Regions from separate parts of the Homo sapiens genome. Here regions 1, 2, 3, 4, 6 and 7 are each linked to region 5. Evidence: promoter capture Hi-C in 16 types of primary human blood cells and fetal thymus (Javierre and others, 2016). All regions are on one chromosome and are shown on one strand. Each heading gives the region's core, a stretch centred on a gene start or on the middle of the fragment in contact. The rest is flanking DNA. Distances are from core to core; before and after follow the strand shown.

The links. The method cuts DNA at HindIII sites, captures the fragments that hold promoters and counts their contacts. A CHiCAGO score of 5 or more calls a contact.
Region 1: a fragment that was not itself captured here is called in contact with the fragment with the promoter of HTR2A in region 5 in 2 of 17 cell types (M1 macrophages and endothelial precursors); the score reaches 5.3 in M1 macrophages.
Region 2: a fragment that was not itself captured here is called in contact with the fragment with the promoter of HTR2A in region 5 in 1 of 17 cell types (endothelial precursors); the score reaches 5.7 in endothelial precursors.
Region 3: a contact is called between a fragment that was not itself captured here and the fragment with the promoter of HTR2A in region 5, in 1 of 17 cell types (M2 macrophages). The highest score is 5.6, in M2 macrophages.
Region 4: a contact is called between a fragment that was not itself captured here and the fragment with the promoter of HTR2A in region 5, in 1 of 17 cell types (M2 macrophages). The highest score is 5.3, in M2 macrophages.
Region 6: a fragment that was not itself captured here is called in contact with the fragment with the promoter of HTR2A in region 5 in 7 of 17 cell types (naive B cells, megakaryocytes, total B cells and 4 more); the score reaches 9.8 in naive B cells.
Region 7: a fragment that was not itself captured here is called in contact with the fragment with the promoter of HTR2A in region 5 in 2 of 17 cell types (M1 macrophages and M2 macrophages); the score reaches 6.1 in M1 macrophages.

The regions. Positions count from the first base shown.
Region 1 is chr13:47,707,001-47,709,909 of GRCh38, reverse strand. No RefSeq gene overlaps it. Among named protein-coding and RNA genes, the nearest start is that of LINC00562, 220 kb to the left of the region's middle. The HindIII fragment of the contact is 1,143 bases long and covers 1,046-2,188 here.
Region 2 is chr13:47,804,657-47,807,450 of GRCh38, reverse strand. No RefSeq gene overlaps it. Among named protein-coding and RNA genes, the nearest start is that of LINC00562, 130 kb to the left of the region's middle. The HindIII fragment of the contact is 822 bases long and covers 1,032-1,853 here.
Region 3 is chr13:47,659,136-47,662,202 of GRCh38, reverse strand. No RefSeq gene overlaps it. Among named protein-coding and RNA genes, the nearest start is that of LINC00562, 270 kb to the left of the region's middle. The HindIII fragment of the contact is 2,393 bases long and covers 296-2,688 here.
Region 4 is chr13:47,623,805-47,626,755 of GRCh38, reverse strand. No RefSeq gene overlaps it. Among named protein-coding and RNA genes, the nearest start is that of LINC00562, 310 kb to the left of the region's middle. The HindIII fragment of the contact is 3,753 bases long and covers 1-2,951 here.
Region 5 is chr13:46,895,524-46,898,360 of GRCh38, reverse strand. HTR2A (5-hydroxytryptamine receptor 2A) reads left to right here and starts at 1,308. Exons shown (of 4, transcript NM_000621.5): 1 at 1,308-1,687; 2 at 2,127-2,837. The coding sequence starts at 2,455. The HindIII fragment of the contact is 5,377 bases long and covers 1-2,837 here.
Region 6 is chr13:47,777,154-47,780,245 of GRCh38, reverse strand. No RefSeq gene overlaps it. Among named protein-coding and RNA genes, the nearest start is that of LINC00562, 150 kb to the left of the region's middle. The HindIII fragment of the contact is 1,452 bases long and covers 1,102-2,553 here.
Region 7 is chr13:47,747,580-47,750,460 of GRCh38, reverse strand. No RefSeq gene overlaps it. Among named protein-coding and RNA genes, the nearest start is that of LINC00562, 180 kb to the left of the region's middle. The HindIII fragment of the contact is 4,454 bases long and covers 1-2,881 here.

The sequences.
Region 1 (2,909 bases), core at 368-2,867, 810 kb before region 5:
AAAGTAACAGGGCCATCTGGATGAGATCCTTTCCAAAGATCACCTACAGTTAGATCTTTTGGGGGTTTGACTGCTGTGGATAGGAGATGGAGGTGATGCAGGATTTTTGCTCCTTAGTTCAGCTAAATGTGTGTTCTTGTCTCACAGCTAGAAAAAATTAGGCATGCAGAAACATTGAATGGTGAGAAGGATGGAATTTATTAAGCGAAAAAAAGCTCTTGGCAAAAGAGGGGAGGTCCTGCCAACAGGTTTTCACCTCCCTAATTGAATATCAGGGCTACCACACACGCGCTAAAGAGGCCACTCCTCCCTTGCATAAGGCATGAATTCCTGGTGGCTCCATCCCATTCCCCCAGTGCTCAGGCAGGCACGCCCTGGCAAGCCATAGATAGTATTGGAAAAGGCAGCATTTGATTGGTTGAAAGGCCTTATTCAGAAAGAATCAATTGGGAAAGGGTGGACAAACAGGGGCAGAAGTTTTCCCTCTGGGTTGCAGGTTTCATCCGGAACCAGCACTCTGGTCTTTCAGCTTTCAGGCTGCTTTAAGCTTGAAGCGGGGGTCTCACCCGAGACCCTTCCCTAGCTGCCTAGGCATTTGTCTGCCTCCTGCCTTTATTAGAGCAAGATTGAAAGAGGCTGGCCAGAGAGCCCCTTGCCCAGGTCTGAGAGCTCAACACAGCTGCGGGGAACCTTGGAAGTATGGACGTCTTCATCACTTGAGGGCTGATGTCCAGCTGGGGTGATCTCAGGGGGAGTTTCTGTAGTTTGCTCCTCTTCCCCTTTGGCTCTATGAGGCTGAGAGAGAAGGAAGATAGAGAAGGAAAGGCAGAAAAGACATGAGAGACCAGTTTGGGCACCCTTATACCTACTGTAGTTGTCTGACCTGCAGGCTAGGCCTGGGTTAAAGGGGAGGAGAAAGTTGTAAATGTGATCTTGGTGTTTTGATATGACTCTACTGGACTTTCAATATCTAAGAGTGAGTCTTAAAGTGAATGAAAGTGGTGGGAGCTGCCTGAGCTCTTGTCCAGGGATGGAACAGAAAGCTTTGACGTAGCAGACCAGCAATGGGAGAAAAAAGAAGTGTTTCCTGGTTGTACCTTGTTGTGACCATCTCATGTAATAAGCCACACAGAACCTGATATGTTGCTGTAAATGGCAAATTCTTGGTAAGTGCTAAGTGAAAGGCAGTTTTGTGATCATCCTTTTTATCTTCCCTGTGTATCAAGTGAGTCAGAACTAAATCACCACTTTGCAGACACAGAGGGCACGAGGTAACAAGAGTTAAGCAATGCCTGACAACCAAAAATCCAAGAATGTCAGTAATCAAATCATACTTTAAAGTTCACCCTCTGACCCACTTGCCTGGGAAAATGCCAAGGAAATAAACAGGAAAGACGAAGTCTCTTAATACACAATACGCATTTGTATTGAACAAATGTGCTGTCCCTCCCAGGGAGCAGGATGATGTTGACACACCTTGAGTGACATTTCCCAGATGCTGTCCCTGAAAAGCCCCCTTTATAAAGCCTTCAAGACATTTCAGTAAACTGGGGAAGGAGTTGTGGTTTTCAATGGTCCATAGGTCATGGGAATAGCAGGGTGTGAATCCATTCCTGCTCTTCTTGGCTTTGGTGTGGGATTAGCATAATTCCATCTTTTTGTAATCCTAAATCATGCCATTTCTCCACGTCTGCATCTTATAAGTAGAGAAGAGCCTACGTACAAACTCTCAGGGTAAGGAGGATCTGGAAGGCATGACTATGCTAGTGAATATCAATTTTCATGACATGAACTGGCCTGGGGAAAGCATAGATGATTGAAATACACACATAATCCAAAAATGTCATCTTAGTCAATTGCATTAATCCTTACCAGCCATCTTCACTGAGACCTTAAGTTCTTAATAGACTAGTTTGAGTTTTATTTTTTTTTCTTCTTGCCAACCTAATACTTGGGGATAATGACAAGCACTGAAATGAAAAGAAAGTAGGTAAAATGATGGAACAGGGTAGTCGAATTTGTAAACTGGATCATCAGCCTTTGAATGCTTTGGAGTCAGCTATAAATACTGTTTTGTGATTATGTGTAAGCATCTGGGTGATTTAAACCCACAGTCTGTGAAATGTGACAGGATAGATGTACCCTGCACCTGTTTTTCTTCCTCTTTGGATTTGTTAATAATGAAGCTTATACAACTCAAGAAAATTACCACTGACAGAATCACAGGAGGCTCAGTGCTTTGGGCGGTATAAATTTTAGGCGATTGAGTCTGCATGTGAAACAAACCTTTGTTGGGTCAGACCACTTCCTGGAATAGAACACTATTGAGATTTGCCATGATTGATTCTGAGAATCTTGGGGTCACTTTCTCTAGTATTGTTAGAAAAAAAAAAACCCACACATAAAATCAATACAGTCAGGAATAGCATCTACCGAACAGTTTAACATGTCCTTCTCTCCTTTAGGAATTAGCTTATTTTTCATTCACAGGAATACTTTGCTCTTTTGAATGCTTACCCTACCTTTATTCGAGCTGACTGGTATTCAGCTGCAGCCCAGGGACCTGCCTGAGCCTGTGTACAGCTCTCTGCCCCCACTGAGACCTCCAAATACTGTCTGCTCCTGATTACCTTAATTCATATATATACCCCCATTCATTTCATTCATTTGCCATATACCCCCCAATCATTTCATTCATTTATTATATATCTTATTTATTTATTTACTTTTTGAGATGGAGTCTTGCTCTGTCACCCAGGCTGGAGTGCAGTGGCATGATCTCAGCTCACTGCAAACTCTGCCTCCCAGGTTCAAGCCATTCTCCAGCCTCAGCCTCCCGAGTAGCTGGGACTACAGGTGCATGACACGTGTCCAGCTAATTTTTGTACTTTTACTAGAGACGGGGTTTC
Region 2 (2,794 bases), core at 193-2,692, 910 kb before region 5:
CAAGACTTGGATAGAGAAGTAACATAAGGAGGCAGCTGTGGGAAGACTGACCATCTGGTAAGCGATGGTGGAGGTATCTGGTTCTTCTGGGGCTCCTGTGGCAGAGTTTTGGCATCCAGTCCCATGTGTGTTCTGGGACAAGTGGCCGGTGGCCAAGGTGGCTAGTCTTTCCTGTGATTATTGCTTGTGGATGGTTTCAAGATATGCACCATTTAGATGGAATTCTTTGGTTTCTCTAGAAATTCTGCAAGCTAACCATATCCTTTAATAAATTACCTTCTGTTTAAACCAGAGAGTATTGTTTGCAACTACCAATACTAATTGCTATGGGCCTCAAATTAAGAGCTTTGATGTTATCTCTCAATGGAGTTATACATACATTTGTATTTTTGTGTGTGTGTATGTACATGTTATAAGCATTAATTTTTTGAATAGATTATTTTTCAGATCAGTTTTAGATTCACAGCAAAATTGTGTGGAGAGTACACAGAGTTTCCATATTCCCTGCCCCGACACATGCATAGTTTTCTCCATTATCAACACCCCCCACAAGACTGGTTACAATCGGTGAATCTACAATGACATGTCATTATCACCCATAATCCATAGTGTGCATTAGAATTTACTCTTAGAGTTGTACACTGTACGGGTTTTGGCAAATGTACAATTATATGTATCCAATATTATAGTATCATGCAGAGTCATTTTGCTGCCCTAAAAATCCTCCATGTTCCACCTCTCTCTCCCTCTTTCCCCTTAAGCCCCTGGCAATCACTGATCATTTTACCTCTCTGTAGTTTTACCTTTTCCAAAATGTCTTAGAATTGGAATCACATAGTTTTTCAGATTTGTTTCTTCTACTTAGTAATATGCATTTAAGTGTCCTCCGTGTCTTTTCATGGCTTAATAGCTAATTTCTTCTTAGCACCCAATAGTATTTCATTGTATGGATGTATCACAGTTTATTTAACCACTCACCTACTGAAAGACATTTTGATTATTTTCAAGTTTTGGCCATTATGAATAAAGCTTCTATAAACATCGATGTAGAGATTTTTGTGTGGAAATAAATTTCTATCTCATCTAAGTAAATATCAAGGAGCATGATTGCTGGATTATGTGGTAAAAGTACATTCATTTTGTAAGAAATTGCCAAACTTTCTTCCAAAGTGGCTGTATCATTTTGGATTCTCACCAGAATTAGAATGAATGAATGAGAGTTCTTGTTGCTCATCCTTGCCAGCAGTTGGTGTTGTCAGTGTTTTGGATGTTGGCCATTCCAATAGGTGTGTAATGGTATCTCATTGTTGTTTTATTTTAAATTCCCTAATGACATATGATGTTGAGTGTCTTTTTATATGCATATTTGCTTAAAAGTATTACTTTTTAAATCATAAATTTGCAATTCTATTTTGGTTCTCTTTGTATTTCATTTTTCTGGGAGCCTAAAAAACTAGAAATCACCCAGGGTTCTCTTGAGCTTTGAGATGGTCTGCCTAAAGTTGAAGACGAAGGATAAAGCAGGAAAAATGGGAAATCACTGTGAAGAAGTAGACTGTCACACATAAACAGTGATGCTACTGAAAATGAAATATTAGAGAATAGACAATATCTTTTCCTTTCTGAAGGAAATCAGAAATCCTTTCTGAAGGATTCTGAAGAGTGAATCAGAGTCTCATGTGTTCTACTTGCTGTTTGGTGAGGAGGAAAGTAGCTATGAAATAGGTTTTTATGTGTAGTGGCTCAACAATGACCTCAGGCTGATATAATGAGGGTGATCATCCTTATTATGTAGGAAATACCCCTGCATGCTTTCACCTTGACCCGCTTCAAAGGAGGGAGTTTGCAAAGCTTATTGGTCTATTAGCAAACCTCATTTCCCCTCTTTTTTTCTGAACAATGAGCATCTACCTATCATAGAGATGTTATTAAGATAAAATGTGATAATGGTGTGAAGGTATTTTGAAAATATGAAGTATTTTACAAATGAAAAAGTTTAAAGGCTTGATTTTCCACTTTGGCTTCTTTTTAAAATTTTTATTATTTTTATTATTTTGTGTTTTTAAAAATATGTATATTTATTATACTTTAAGTTCTGAGGAACATATGCAGAACGTTCAGTTTTGTTACATAGGTATACAGTGCCATGGTGGTTTGCTGCACCCATCAACCCATCACCTATATTAGGTATTTCTCCTAATGCTATCCCTCCTCTAGCCCCCCACCCCCCGACAGGCCCTGGTGTCTGATGTTCCCCTCTGTGTGTCCATGTGTTCTCATTGTTCAACTCCCACTTATGAGTGAGGACATGCGGTATTTGGTTTTCTGTTCCTGTGTGATACTTTGCTGAGAATGATGGCTTCCAGTTTCATCCATGTCCCTGCAAAGGAAATGAACTCATTGTTTTTTATGGCAGCATAGTATTCCATGGTGTATATGTGCCACATTTTCTTTATCCAGTCTATTATTGATGGACATTTGGGTTGGTTCCAAGTCTTCACTGTTGTGAATAGTGCCACAATAAACATATGTGTGCATGTGCCTTTATAGTAGAATGATTTATAATCCTTTGGGTGTATACCCAGTAATGGGATTGCTGGGTCAAATGGTATTTCTAGTTCTAGTTCCTTGAGGAATTGCCACACTGTCTTCCACAATGGTTGAACTAATTTACACCCCCACTAACAGTGTAAAAGCTTCCTATTTCTCCACATCCTCTCCAGCATCTGTTGTTTCCTGACTTTTTAATGATCGCCATTCTAACTGGTGCGAGATGGTATCTCATCGTGGTTTT
Region 3 (3,067 bases), core at 243-2,742, 760 kb before region 5:
TAACACTAATAAGTTTTGTAATTAGGATGTTGAGAAAATACTGGAGCTTAAGAGATTAATGCTTCTAAAACACAAAAGACTTTCTCCCCTCTTGTTTTCTCCCAGAAATTTTCTTAGACTAACATTCTTGGTGTCTCTCCCCACCATGTGAGCAGGAGTAATGTATTAGTCTAGTGGCTTTGGAAAAGGAGCTCAGCTCAGGCCTGCTTTCTTCAATGTTTTAAAGTTAGTGGTAGAAACCCTCAGAAGCAAAGGCTGTATCAGTCCATGTCTCCCTGGGCTTGAGTGGGAAGCTTAGATCTGGGCTTCATCTTAGGCCTCTTGGACTGTAACACATAAACCTTTCTTTTCAACAATGATAGTAAATTAATGAGAATAAAAGGGATTTGTTAGTCTCTGGCTGATTTCTCTGAAACTTCTACTGTATCCTAAATTCAGGTTTTGGGGGAAGGAGCAGTTTTTAAATAACCCCCCAAAACCCCAAAGAGGACATTCCAGGAAGAAGAAACTATGTTGTTAGAGATGAGAGTGAGGGGTATAAAATGCATAGAAACACTTTCATCTGGAAACAAGCATTTTAATTGTAGGGAATATGCTAAGTTACTTCTCATTTTATTGATCCATTACTTGGAAAATTCTATACTATGTTGTCAGCATTTTGCTGATACCATATTTTATAATGAACAATTCAAAAATTCAGTCTCTTATGACAACAAATATTCATTACTTGTAAGTCTGAGAGTTGGCCAAGGCTCTGCTGGGTTTCACCATGCTTGCCATGTCTTCTCACTCTGGGATCTTCTCTGGGATGAGTTACTGTCATGGTGGATGGCAGGAATGCAAATGGAACAAACCAAAACTTGTAATACCTCTCACAGACGTTGCTCACATCTGGCATACTGTCATCTCCACGCACATTCAATCAGTTAAACTCACATGACTAAGCCCAAAGCCAGTGGGGGCAAGGAAGTATGATTCACCCACAGTAAATTGTGGCACGGATGGGACTGTGTTACAGTCTCCCACATATGCCATTGGCTTTCATTTAGCTTCCGTATATAATATCTTTAGCTGCTTTTTATGCTATTTGCATTATATAACTTATTTATTTATCTGTCTTTGATAAAACTCTGAAGATTTTCACTTTTTTTTTGGTTTATTTTCCTGCTGTAAAGAGCTATTAAACGTTCTTCTATATGAATGCCTAGACTACTTTTCTGAGTTATTTTAATATTTTATTCATGAAACTCTGGGGAATCCAGTGAGACTGGACATATTCTTTCTTACCGGAAAATATTTTATTTATTAACCTTTGGTGGGAGAGTAAATTAGTTCAACCATTATGGAAGACAGTGTAGTGATTCCTCAAAGACCTAAAGATAGAAATACCATTTGACCCAGCAATTCCATTACTGTGTATATATCCAAAGAAATCTAAATCATTCTATCATAAAGACACAGGCACATGTATGTTTATTGCAGCACTATTCACAATAGTAAAGACAGGGAATCAACCTAAATACCCATCAACAATAGACTGGATAAAGAAAATGTGGTACATATACACCACAGAATACTCTGCAGCCATAAAAAAGAATGAGATCATGTCCTTTGCAGGGACATGGATGAAGCTGGAGGCCATTATCCTTGGCAAACTAAACAAGAACAGAAAACTGAATACTGCATTTTATCACTTACAAGTGGGAGCTAAGTGATAACACATGGATACATAGAAAGAAACAACACACACTGGGGCATTTTGGAGGTTGGGAGTTGGGATGAGGGAGAGGATCAGGAAAAATAACTAATGGGTACTAGGCTTAATACTCAGGTGATGAAATAATCTGTACAACACACCTCCATGACACATGTTTAACTATGTAACCTGTACATGTACCCCTGAACTTAAAAGTTAAAAAAATTAAATGAACCAGGCTCCTTATAACTGTTCCATCTGTGATAGGCAGACTCCAGGGTGCCTCCTCGACCCCTGCCTCCTGATACCCCAACCATTGTGGTCCCCTTGCTTTGAAAGTGGGCAGGATCTTTAACCCAGGATCTTTAACCAATAGAATATGACAAGAGTGATGGGTTGTATGTGATTAGGAAACTGAGGTCCTCAGTCCAACAGCTTATAAGAAGTTGATGCTGCCAACCACCATGTAGGCTTCGAAATGGATCCTTCCCCAGTCAGTCCTCAGATGAGGCTGCAGCCCTGGCTGATATTTTGACTGGAACCTTATGATATGAAGTAGAGGACTCAGCTAAGCCTTTCTCATACTCCCGATTCATTGAAATGGTGAGATAATAAATGGGTATCATTTTAAGCTGCTAAGTTTGTGGTAATATTGTTACACAGCAATAGAAAACTTCTAAATCCATTGTTTGTTTTAGAGTACCAAGGATAAAGTGTCTTAATTTGCTTCCTGCCAGTTCTATGCTTTATTTCATTTTGATCTCCTATTTTATTACAATTGGCTTAGTTGATGTATTAATGTCAAGAACTTTTGTTGGTAAGCACTGTGTAAGCAGATTTGCTTAAATCCCTTTATGTCATATGTGCTTGTGTTTACAGAGAATTAAAAATACATACTTGTTAAGTTACTAAACCTCTACAATGTATATGGCACAATTCTACGTAGTGGAGTTGGATACACAGACAGACATGATCCCTGCTTTCATAAAGCTTATTGGAAGAGTCAGAATAACAATTAAATACAATTTAAAAATTACACATTTGAATAACTGCATAGAAGACATAAATAGGCTACTGTGCTCTAGAATAACTAGAGGATCTTTTCTAGCAAAGTCTCTTGAGGAGTTAGCATTTAAGTTGAGATTCAAAAGAAGAGAAGAGGAAAAATACAGTGTTTAATTCTCATTAGTTTTGAATTGGGTGAGTTGGTGCAAAATTGTGTTTGCTCATGTGTGTAGATATAATATAGATGAGATTTATAATAGAAATTCAGAAATAAATTTTATAAGCACTTTAAATTCTGGAAATTGAAGGAAAATATAACAAAACGAACAAAAAGTGTATATATTTGGAATGTAATCTGGTGATAAG
Region 4 (2,951 bases), core at 348-2,847, 730 kb before region 5:
ATTAATACAGAGAGCTCCTATATCCTTTTTATTAAGATTTAATAATTTTTAATGTTTTTTATATTTCCTTCAATCAAGGATATTCTTTTATCATCGTACAGTTATTAAGTTTCAAGAACTTAACATTGCTATTTTTATTTGTCTATATAATTTATATTCCAATTTTGTCCATTTTGTTAGTAATGTCTTTATATAATAATTTTTCTTCCAGTCCAAGCTCTAGTCTAGGATTATGTATTGCATTTAATTTTCATATTTCCTTAATCTCTGTTAAAGGAATATTGTCTTTTTTTGTCTTTTGTTGCATTGATACTTTAAAACAATAGAGGTCAGTTATTTATAGAATGATCCTTGCTTTGGGTTCATTTAGTGTTACCTCATAATTAAATTTAGGTTATGTATCCCTTACCAGAACACTACAAAAGTGACGTATGTCTTTTGCAGGGCTTCACATCCAGAGGTGCCACAATACCTATCTGCCTCTTGGTAGTTTTAATTTTGATCACCCGGTAAAGGTTTTATCCAGTTTCTCCACTGTATAGTTACCATTTTTCCTCTTATAAATAATTTATGAGAAAATGCTGTGAGATTGTGCATATATCCTACTTGTCATTAAACATTGCATCTAAGATTTAACAACCATTGTTGATTCTTGCCCAAGCTAGTCTCCACCATTATCAGTTGATTTTCTACTATAAGGAACAAGCCAGTATCCTATATATCTATGTATTATCTATATATTCTATTCATCCATCATCTATTTACATCTACCTCTGTTATCCATATGGACCCATAGATTCCTATTATACTCAATGGGTTATAATCTAATCTTATTTATTGTTCCAGCTTTGGCCGTGGGAACCCCTCTTCTTCAAGCTGGCTCCTATGTCTTTTTGACATGCTCACGTTGTGTGTGTGTGTGTGTGTGTATGGCGAGAAGTGGTTAGCAACATATCCTTACTTTCCCGAATAGCAAGATGTTCCAGCTCCTATTGTAACTACCTTGTTCCAGACCTGGGCTTACAGATCCCAACCATAAGCTAACTGAATTAAGTGTCAGGAAGTGTGGTCCAGATAGCTGTACTTTAAAATAAAAGCTCCTAAATGGTTCTGATGCTCTGCAGCTGTACAAACCACTGTGTTATTTAATAAAAGGGGCTATAAAATGCCTCATAATCAGGCTAATGATGGGATTCCCTGGCTCAGTGGTGAGTCCTTGATTTCTTCAGGAGTCTGTTTTACAATTTCAGACTGCCAAGATGACACCCAATTACCGTCCAGAAATGTCATCTTACTCACTGGTCAGATTGTGACAGTGTGGTTCTTTCTTTGTAATGTGTTTCCCTTTTAGACTGATTTTAATTCTGCATTACCTTAACATCTTTAATCTCAGCTTCAGATGCTGGATATATTCTTGCTTTCCCTTCCTCCCTGATTCATTGTTCAACAGCATAAAAAGGGCTTAATATAAGATGGACTGTCTACTGATAGTATGAGATGGACTATCAGATTGCAGAAAGGGAAGCAAGTTGTTGGACATGAGAGTTTATTCCTTGCATTAGTCAACATGTATTTATCGAGCATCCACTATGTTCAAGGAATTGTGATGTGCATGGAGCAGTTAACAAAGCAGTCATGTTTCTTTTTCCTTGGAAATTACTGTTTAGTGGGTTAAATCAATATTAGGAAAAGAACACATATTTGTAAAATTAAAAATGAGACGAAAGATCCAGGAAATCTTTCCTAAGTAAAAGATGATTGAGCTGAGGATTTGCAAGAATTAGAGGAGTTAATAGATATAACACTGGGGGATGAGAAGAATGTTCCTGGCAGAGGAGACAGCCTATGCAAAGGCCCTGTGGAAGAAGAGTATGGATCATTGTAAGACCTGAAATGTGACCACTGTGGCTGGAAAACAGAATAGTGACTAATGTGGTGAAAAATAGTATAGAAAAAAATAAAGAGCCAAGGTAATGCAGCCCCTATAATGTATATTAAAGATTTCTATCTTAAAAACAATGTAAAGCCATTGGAGCATTTAAATCTGAAGAGTGACATGATCAGATTTCTGTATTGGAAAGGTCACTATAATAGGAGAAATAGATCAAAGGAGGCAAGAGAAGACAAGGGAGGGGATCTTCTAGCTGTTGATGGACAGAAGAGGATAGATTCAGAAGATATAGAGGAGGGAAAGCGGCTGAATTTGTTGATGGATTAGTTATTGGGAGTAAGGGAGAGGCAGGTAAAAAAGCAAACTCATTATTTGAGACATGCACAAGACAACAGTGATACTATCACTGAGATGGGAATGATTTGAGAAACAGGTTTGGGGAAGATCACAAATTCACTTCTAGACATGTTGAAATTGAGGTGTGTTTTCAATATACAAGTACAGATGTTAAGTAGTCAAGAGCTCAGGAGAGAAATACAGGTTAGAGATATTTAGGGAGCTCTGAGTTATCTTTGTAGATAATCTTGAGTGAGATCACACACGTGAATAAAATGACCTATTAAGACGGTAGAGAGGAAGAAGAGAAAAAGATCTAAAAATGAACCTCGGAAACTCTAACATTTACTGGCCAATAGACTGGAGGAAGAGCATGTTGTGAAGAGTACAGAAAACAAGTGGCCAGAGGACAGGGCTGTGTCACAGGGCAAAGCTAGAGAATGTTGTAGGAAGAAGTGCCTGGTCAGCAGGATCAAGTGTTACCAAGAGGTAATGTAAGATAAACAAAAATTGTCCATGAGCTTAAGTGGCATGGAAGTCATTGTTGACTTTGCCAAAAGATGTCAGTGAAATGATGAAGGTAAAAGTAAAATATGAGTAAAAGGTTAGAAAAATGAAGACAGAATGCATAAATAATTCTTTAAAGAAATTTGGGTAAAACTCAAATGAGAGAATTGTGTTGCTAACACTTTAAATTCCACCCTAGGTAAGTAAACCTCTGCCT
Region 5 (2,837 bases), core at 59-2,558:
GAGGAAGGTATTATCCCATTTTACAAGTGAGAAGACTGAGCTTTAAAGGGAGCAACTAGATGAGGCGAGGTTCTACTGTTTATGAGTGATAGAGCTAGGATCCAAAACCAAGGAACTCTAAGGTCTGTGTTCTCCGCTGCCTGCTCGCCAGCGTGCATATTTAACGTGGAGGGGTAGGAGGGTGGCAGGCATGGCAGTGAGGGGGGCACTAAGGCACCCACCCAGGAAATAGGTGGCTAGATCTCGACCACAGGGTGCCAGCTGCAGGCTGCAGGAGAGGACATGTGAGAAACACGCATACAGAGGTAGCACCGGAGACGAAGTGGGATCTGGCAGCGAGAATGAAGGAAGAGTCGCGGATAACAGCAGCTGTCTGAAGAGGTGGTGATTCCATCATGCAAGCCAATGGGTAGGAACAAGCACTGAGAGCCGGGCAGGGGGATGCGGAGTGAGGGAAGATGCTGAGGTCAAGGTCTCCCAGGCTACCATGGAAGGAGCCAATGGGCAGCTAGAGATTTAGGTCTGGAACTGAGAGAAATAATCAGCTATGAAGGTACAGACTTGGCCACAAACATATTGAAGGCATGAGAGTGGTTGAATTTGTCCAGGGAGAATGTGAAGAACAGAAGGTGATAGAACTGTAGCAAAACCCAACTATTGAGGAAAATATTTTCATGCCTGCAAAAAGAGAGAGATCGAACTGCCTCCTTTAGAAACCTACTTGGGAAAGGGCTTTCTTTACAAGTAAGGCAAGTTGTCATTACTGGTGGGGGAAAAAAATTGGTACTGCGAAACCAACTTATTTCCTACCACATGTGAGGTTTTGAATAATATCTGGGTGGCATATTTCTGCTGAAGAAAATAAGCCAGTTCAATGGTGTATCTATTAAATAAAAATAGTGCTAATAGTTTATCAGAGTTATCACCACAGACGTGCCTAGCCACCCTGAGCCTATGTGGCCAATGTCAGTAATTCCACTCTGGACACAAACACTGTTGGCTTTGGATGGAAGTGCCGGACACTCACAGCACTCCGAGGACATACTGTTTTCTAGCCTTATTTATGTTCTCTCTTCACCCTTCAGCCTAAAAAATTACCACAGTGCCACTTACCTACCTTAATGGGAATCTGCACAAAAGGCCATTTCTCCAGTTTCTCTCAAAAGCAAAGGAAAACTTCCCAATATTAATATGTAGCAAAAAGAGGGAGAAGAAAAAGCCTGTTTGGTCCGCCCTCCTGGCTGTTGCTACCTTGCAGCTTATGACATACACATAGAGGGAGGTCTGATGAAATGAACGAGACAGTCAGAGAGCTACTCCATTCCCGTGGAAACCAGGAGTCCCTTGGTGCAGACAGCTCTTCCTACTTTCCCATGCAGTTCTTTTGTGCGACTTTGAGGGGCTCGTGAATGATTTCTAAATGTGTGCCTGCTGAGGCGAGCCGCACAGGGAGGGAGGAACCCAGCCGAGCCGTGCCAGAGGAAGCCAACAGGATCCTAGCAGTGCGGGAGCTGGCTCAGCTCTTGCATGCAGTTTTTGAAGTCAGCAAAACAGAAACCAAATTACTATCATATTATGCTGGTGGAAGATCAAGAAGAGGGGACTCTACACCAGTTTAATTACTGTGAGAGATGCAGCGAGTCACAGAATAACAAATGTATCTCATGTGTGGACCCTGAAGACAAATGTAAGTTCTCATGCCGCTATATTTTATTGCTGTGTAATTTTCTTTCCGGTTTGAAATCATGCTTGGCCAACATGTAATCATTTCAATGAGAATTTCCAGGGAGGAAAGTTGTCTGCTAATCTTTACTTAAGACTTTTTTGTTTTCCTTTTATTAGCTAAGCAACATTATAGGAGCTGAAATTCCTGACAGCAGCTGTGGCAATTCAGCTTAAGAATGGCTGAGAACTGTAACCCAAAGTACATCCAATTACTATGGGATTAACACTGGATGTATTTTTAATTGACTTTCTTAATGTAGAATGTGTACATCCCCACTGTTTCTGATTGCATGCTATTTTAATAATACTGTTGCTAAACTAGTACCATCGGCATAACCAACAAAATGAGATATAGTTAAACAAGAGTCCCAGTAGTTATAAAACTTTTCTTCTTTGTCCAGGACATTTATCTTCCCGAGCGCTCAAAAAAAACCCTGCAACCTCTATGCTAAAAGTTCATTCTGCTTTTTTGTCCTCGGTTTGGTGAGAAAATAATAAAACCAAACAGTGGACTCTCCTAAAATTGTGAATGAAGAAAACTTACAGCCACCACAGTTCAGTTCTTTAACTATCATTGTAATAATGGAAGACAAAAATCCAGCCCCGGGAGAACAGCATGTACACCAGCCTCAGTGTTACAGAGTGTGGGTACATCAAGGTGAATGGTGAGCAGAAACTATAACCTGTTAGTCCTTCTACACCTCATCTGCTACAAGTTCTGGCTTAGACATGGATATTCTTTGTGAAGAAAATACTTCTTTGAGCTCAACTACGAACTCCCTAATGCAATTAAATGATGACACCAGGCTCTACAGTAATGACTTTAACTCCGGAGAAGCTAACACTTCTGATGCATTTAACTGGACAGTCGACTCTGAAAATCGAACCAACCTTTCCTGTGAAGGGTGCCTCTCACCGTCGTGTCTCTCCTTACTTCATCTCCAGGAAAAAAACTGGTCTGCTTTACTGACAGCCGTAGTGATTATTCTAACTATTGCTGGAAACATACTCGTCATCATGGCAGTGTCCCTAGAGAAAAAGCTGCAGAATGCCACCAACTATTTCCTGATGTCACTTGCCATAGCTGATATGCTGCTGGGTTTCCTTGTCAT
Region 6 (3,092 bases), core at 578-3,077, 880 kb before region 5:
AGTGAAGAAACTCTACTTGTTCATGACTGTGTTGGTTTCTCTCCTGGCACCTTGACCCTGTGATGCTTTATGGGAGGATACACACAAGTGATATTTCATTTCATGCAGAGCTCTCTGCCTAGATGTCAGCAGACTGCTTTTTCACTTTCTGTCTGAAAGTTCAGGTCACTGAGCAGAGAGTTAGTTTATCAAAATTACTTACCTAGACAAAATTCAGGTACAATCTAAAAATCTGTACTTACATATGTATAAATGACTGTTGTGACTTCTGCCATGTTTGTTCTTTAAAATAAAAATAAGGACAATTGCCTTTGGGTTCTGTCAGTCACTAATGTTGCATAGATGAACTGTAGAGCAAGGGTCCCCAACCCCCAGGCCATGGACCAGTACTGTCTGTGGCCTGTTAGGAACTGGGCCACACAGAAGGAGTGAGTGGTGGGTGAGCGAGCATTACTGCCTGAGCTCTGCCTCCTGTCAGATCAGCTGCAGCATTATATTCTCATAGGAGTGTGAACCCTGCTGTGAACTGCGCATGTGAGGGATCTAGGTTTTGTGTTCCTTATGAGAATCTAATGTCTGATGATCTGAGGTAGAATAGTTTCATCCTGAACCTAACGACCACCACAGTCCATAGAAAAATTATCTTCCATGAAACCAGTCCCTGATGCCAAAAAGTTTGGGGACCACTGCTTTAGAGGACTACATAAGGATAATGATATTAATAGCCACTATGTATAAGCTAAACACCCCACACAAACATATACATCATCTACTATGCTCATCCAATCCTGATCACTGAGAAGAAGATTGCATTTCAAAGGTGTTAATTAACCCAAGGGTACTTGCTGTGGTGAGGCTTGGCTTCAAATCTGGTTCTCATGGTCTCCAAAGAATGAGTTCCATCAATACCTACTTTATTGAGAGTTTTTAGTATGAAGGGGTGTTGAATTTTATCGAAGGCCTTTTCTGCATCTATTGAGGTAATTGTGTGGTTTTTGTCATTGGTTCTGTTTATGTGATGGATTATGTTTATTGATTTGTGTATGTTGAACCAGCCTTGCATCCCAGGGATGAAGCTGACTTGATTGTGGTGGATAAGCTTTTTGATGTGCTGCTGGATTTGGTTTGCCAGTATTTTATTGAGGATTTTCACATCAATGCTCATCAGGGATATTGGCCTGAATTTTTCTTTTTTTGTTGTCGGTGTAAATTAGTTTGACAATTGTGGAAGACAGTGTGGTGATTCCTCAAGGATCTAGAACCAGAAATACCATTTGGCCCAACAATCCCATTACTGGATATATACCCAAAGGATTATAAATCATTCTACTATAAAGACACATGCACACGTATGTTTATTGCAGCATTGTTCACAACAGCAAAGATTTGGAACCAACCCAAATGTCCATCAATGATAGACTGGATAAAGAAAATGTGGCACATATACACCATGGAGTACTATGCAGCCATAAAAAAGAATGAGTTCATGTCCTTTGCAGGGATATGGATGAAGCTGGGAACCATCATTCTCAGCAAACTAATGCAAGAACAGAAAACCAAACACCACCTGTTCTCACTCATAAGTAAGAGTTGAACAATGAGAACACATGGACACAGGGAGGGGAACATCACACACGGGTTGGGTGGGGGTGGCTAGGGGAGGGGTAGCATTAGGAGAAATACCTAATGTAGATGACGGGTTGATGGGTGCAGCAAACTGCCATGGCACGTGTATACCTATGTAACAAACCTGCACGTTCTGCACATGAATCCCAAAACCTAAAGTATAATTTAAAAAAAAGTTAAAAAAAAAAAAGAATGAGTTCAGGAGATCCCTCTATGACCACACTGTCTCCCTTCCTTACTACTCAATTGATGCCTCCTTTAAGAAGGTAAATGCTTTTATCCAATTTATAGAACTGTTTGAACTTGATGGATATAAATGTAAATGTTTGAATGTTTTTCTCCAATGCCTTTTTCACCTGTGCTTTGTTCAGGCTTCTTTCTCCAGCCATAAATGACATTTTGGGTAGCACCATAGCCCTCAGATCACTTTCAGTTATTCTGTTAATGCAGTCTGTGGGAGGCAGCTTCTGGAATGACCCTCATGTTGGAGAGGCCCATATGGCAGGGAACTCAGGGTCACCTCTGGCCAACAGGAAGGGAGATACTGAGGCCCTCAGTCTAAGAGCTCATAAGTAATGGAATCCTGCCAACAACCACATGAATGAGCTTGGAAGTGGATTCTTCCCAGTGGAGCCCTGAGATTACTGTAACCCCAGCTAGCATCCTGATTGCAGCCTGAAGCAGAACACCCAGCTAAGTTGTACCCAGATTCCTGACCCATAGAAACAGAGTAAATGTGTGTGGTTTTAAGCCACTACATCTCTTATAAGAGACCAAACTGTGTTAGTCCATTCTGGTATTGCTATAAAGAAATACCTGAGGCTGGGTAATTTATAAGAAAGAAGAGTTTGTTTTGGATCATGGTTCTGCAGGCTGTACAGGAAGTGTGGTGCCAGCATCTGCTCCTGGTGATAACCTCAGGAAGCTTCCAATTATGGTGGAAGGAGAAGGGGAACCAGTATGTCATATAGTGACAGAGGGAACAAGAGGGAGAGAAAGGAGAGGTCCCAGACTTTTAGACAACTAGATCTTTCTAGAACTAACAGCAAGAACTTACTTATCCCCAAGGGGATGGAGCTAAACTATTCATGAGGGATCCACCCCTATGATCCAGTCACCTCCCACCAGGCCCTACCTCCAACACTGGGAATCACATTTCAACATGAGATTTGGAAGGGACAAACATCCAACCTATATCAATAATGAATGTACTGACCCAGCTTAAAATTTCAACTGGACATCCAATTTAATGATTATTTTCTATCATCCTCCTTTCCCCTTTCTGTCTGTGGTCAGGAGACTTGCAGAACCTGCCCTTTCATTTCTTCCTCCACCTCTGCTCTTTTGGGTTTCTGTCTCCTTTGGTAGGAGCTGTGGAGGGATATGGAAAGACACAGTGTTTCTTGTCTGACATCTTCATCATTTTTCTGCTGTTACTTTGCTTCTCTGGCTTTGAGTAAATGTCT
Region 7 (2,881 bases), core at 39-2,538, 850 kb before region 5:
TTCTAGTGATTCTCCTGCCTCAGCCTCTCGAGTAGCTGGGATTATAGGCGTGTGCCACAATGCCTACCTAATTTTTGTATTTTTAGTAGAGAGGGGGTTTCACCATGTTGGCCAGGATGGTCTCAATCTCTTGACCTCGTGATCCACCCGCCTTGGCCTCCCAAAGTGGTGGGATTACAGGCGTGAGCCACTGCGACCGGCCCATGCCCTTAATTTCTGTACATGTTTCCTCCCTCTGAGAATGAGCACAGGGTAGAGTCTTGCTACCTCTGCCCTGATTTTATGCCCTTTATGTGTTGTGGGTGGTGGAGGGCTAGTGCTCTGATCCTGGATTTTAGCCCAGATAAAGAACTGAGTTTTCTGAGAACACCTCACATTTCCAATAGTTAAGACTTTTATTAAACTTGTAATATTTGGTAACATTTTCTTAAAGTCTTGGTGGTGGTAAACTATCACTTTATAGCCCCAGTTCTTTATATTCCTTCTTGGTTAGGAGACGCAGGCAATTAAAGCAAATTTATGGAAACAGATTTCATACTTAGCCTTGTAACAAAATTTCACCCCAAACTAAAAACAACCACTTAACCATATGGAAGAGCTAATTTAGTTTCAACCCAGCAATTTTGAAATAAGTACTCGTATAATAAAATTTCAATTATAGTAGTTCTTCTCTAGAACTTACTGTGTATATACTTAAAATTTTGTAATCCATGCTATTATGGTTGATTTAATATTCTGTTATTTCCAACTCATATTAAACTCCTTTTTTGTTTTTTTTTTTTTTTTAAAATTTGACTTCTGGATTCACGTCAGTGACTCTGTAACCATGTTTCTTGTTCCTTTCTTTATATAATGGGTAAAGGGGAGATGGCCTTGGGTAGTCTAATTTGTAGCTCTGGCAGTGATGTCTTTTTAACCCCCCAGAATATATTTAAGAAATATGCATGTAAATCATAGTCATATCTAAGGAATAAAAACGATAAAAAGAACAAAGTAGCTGGGGTTGAAACAGAAAAGGCAGACTATCTCTTCCCACTACCCCGTGAATCAGATAGATGGATGTGTCTGTGCTTAGGCGACCCATGGTGAGACAGGCAGGGAGGGGTGGGGGGGGCAGGAGAGAGACAGAGAGAGAGATAGGGAGAGAGACAGAGAGAGAGAGAACTAGAAAAGTTCTTTATTAGTATTTCTACAAGAAATACACTAGATGGTTTGGGGTCAAAACCAGTCGGTTTTATATGTGACCCTCTGCACCCCACTTTTAATGTGTTTTCTCTGCTCAGATGGCATTTAAAAAATCATATAACAGTTTCCTTCTAAAACAGACTTCTGGACTTATTTTTTCCTTTAATCTATACCTGCCAGTTTGGGACAGTATTGCCTTCACTTGATGAAAATCTTTGCTATTAATTGAGGATGTAGCTAATATTTCTGTCATAGACAGCAAGGTGACACAGGATTACTTTTCATATATCTCTCATGCCCGGGGAGAATGAACACAAAGGTTTCCCTTTTCAGCACAAGATAGAAGATTCCTAATTTTAATGTCAGAGTGACACCTTAGCGGAGTTTGTATCTGGTTAAAGGGTTGTAAGTATCAGGATAGCCTGTTCTCCAGTACTTCCCGCATGCCCTCTTCATAAGTGGGACCCCTCATCTCCCTTTATCCATCTCTAGGGTGCTCTGAAGGTAGTCAGTGTTTCCCTGTGCATCTGATTTGATCTTTAAAGACCCACAGCACTAATAGATTTATCTTTTCACATTCAAAGCATTCAGCTTATAATAGTTCCCCATTTCATGACTGATAATTTTGTTGTACAACCTTAAATGACTCCAAGCACTGGTAAGGGCACCCTAATATTTTCCTGTGACTTTACCTAATTTCCAGACTCTGAGCAACAGCCTCCATTACACATATCTCCTTGTTCTTTTGGACAATTACATTATGAACGTAGCAGTCAGGACACAGTCAGGAGACAGAGACCACCACTTGTTTTGTTTTAAAAGAGAGAATTTAATGTAAAGAACGGTTAACTAAGAAATGAAAGGCAAAATGAATGAAGTTATTGTGGAGGGATCAAATGCAGGAAGTAGCTACCACTGTTGGGGCTGGGAGAACAAGGAGAAAAGGTGGGAATTGGAAAACCTTAGAAACATGGAAGAGAGATCTCACGGAGCTGAAACCGAGAATTCTGAGAAGGAGCCATTGCTTAGCAGGTACTTGTTTCTCTGAGCTGAGAGTAGGTTTCCTGGCTTCTAAGGCAGGGACACTGGTTGGCCGGTATTTCTGATGGCATACAATGGGGCTAGATGCACAAGTACCGGGAAAATGCACTGGTTCCGTTGATGCTCTGGGAAGGAGCTGCACCTGCTGGTGTAGAGAAGGAAAGCAGGGTGACACAGGAAGCAAGGAGGAAGGAGCAAATCTCTTCTACCTCCTCTAGCCTTGCAATCTCTGTTTAATTCTCCTGTCGGCAGCACCTGACAAGGAGAAGCTGGCAGGAGAATCACAGGGGAGAGTACAGAGGGTGGGTTTGGCACTGAGAGGCAGTGGCCTATTATCTGGCACACTGAGCTATCACTGTACAAATGCTTGTATTTGCAAAGGATTGTTATTCAAATTCTGTAGTTTCAATGCAGTCAGCATGCCACACATAAAGAATGACTGTGATCAAAGTATTTTATCACTTTCAAGTCATGCTTATAAAATGCTCAATAAATGTATTTTTTTAAAGTGAGAATATTTTACTGAACACAAACGGTTTCATCTGGGGACTACACAACCTTATGTGGTGGTTTTAAAATATGTCCACGAATCTTTCAAAATTGCTCCTTCGAAAGATCGTACCTCATGTCCCTCCCCTTCTTAATTTCCCTCCCC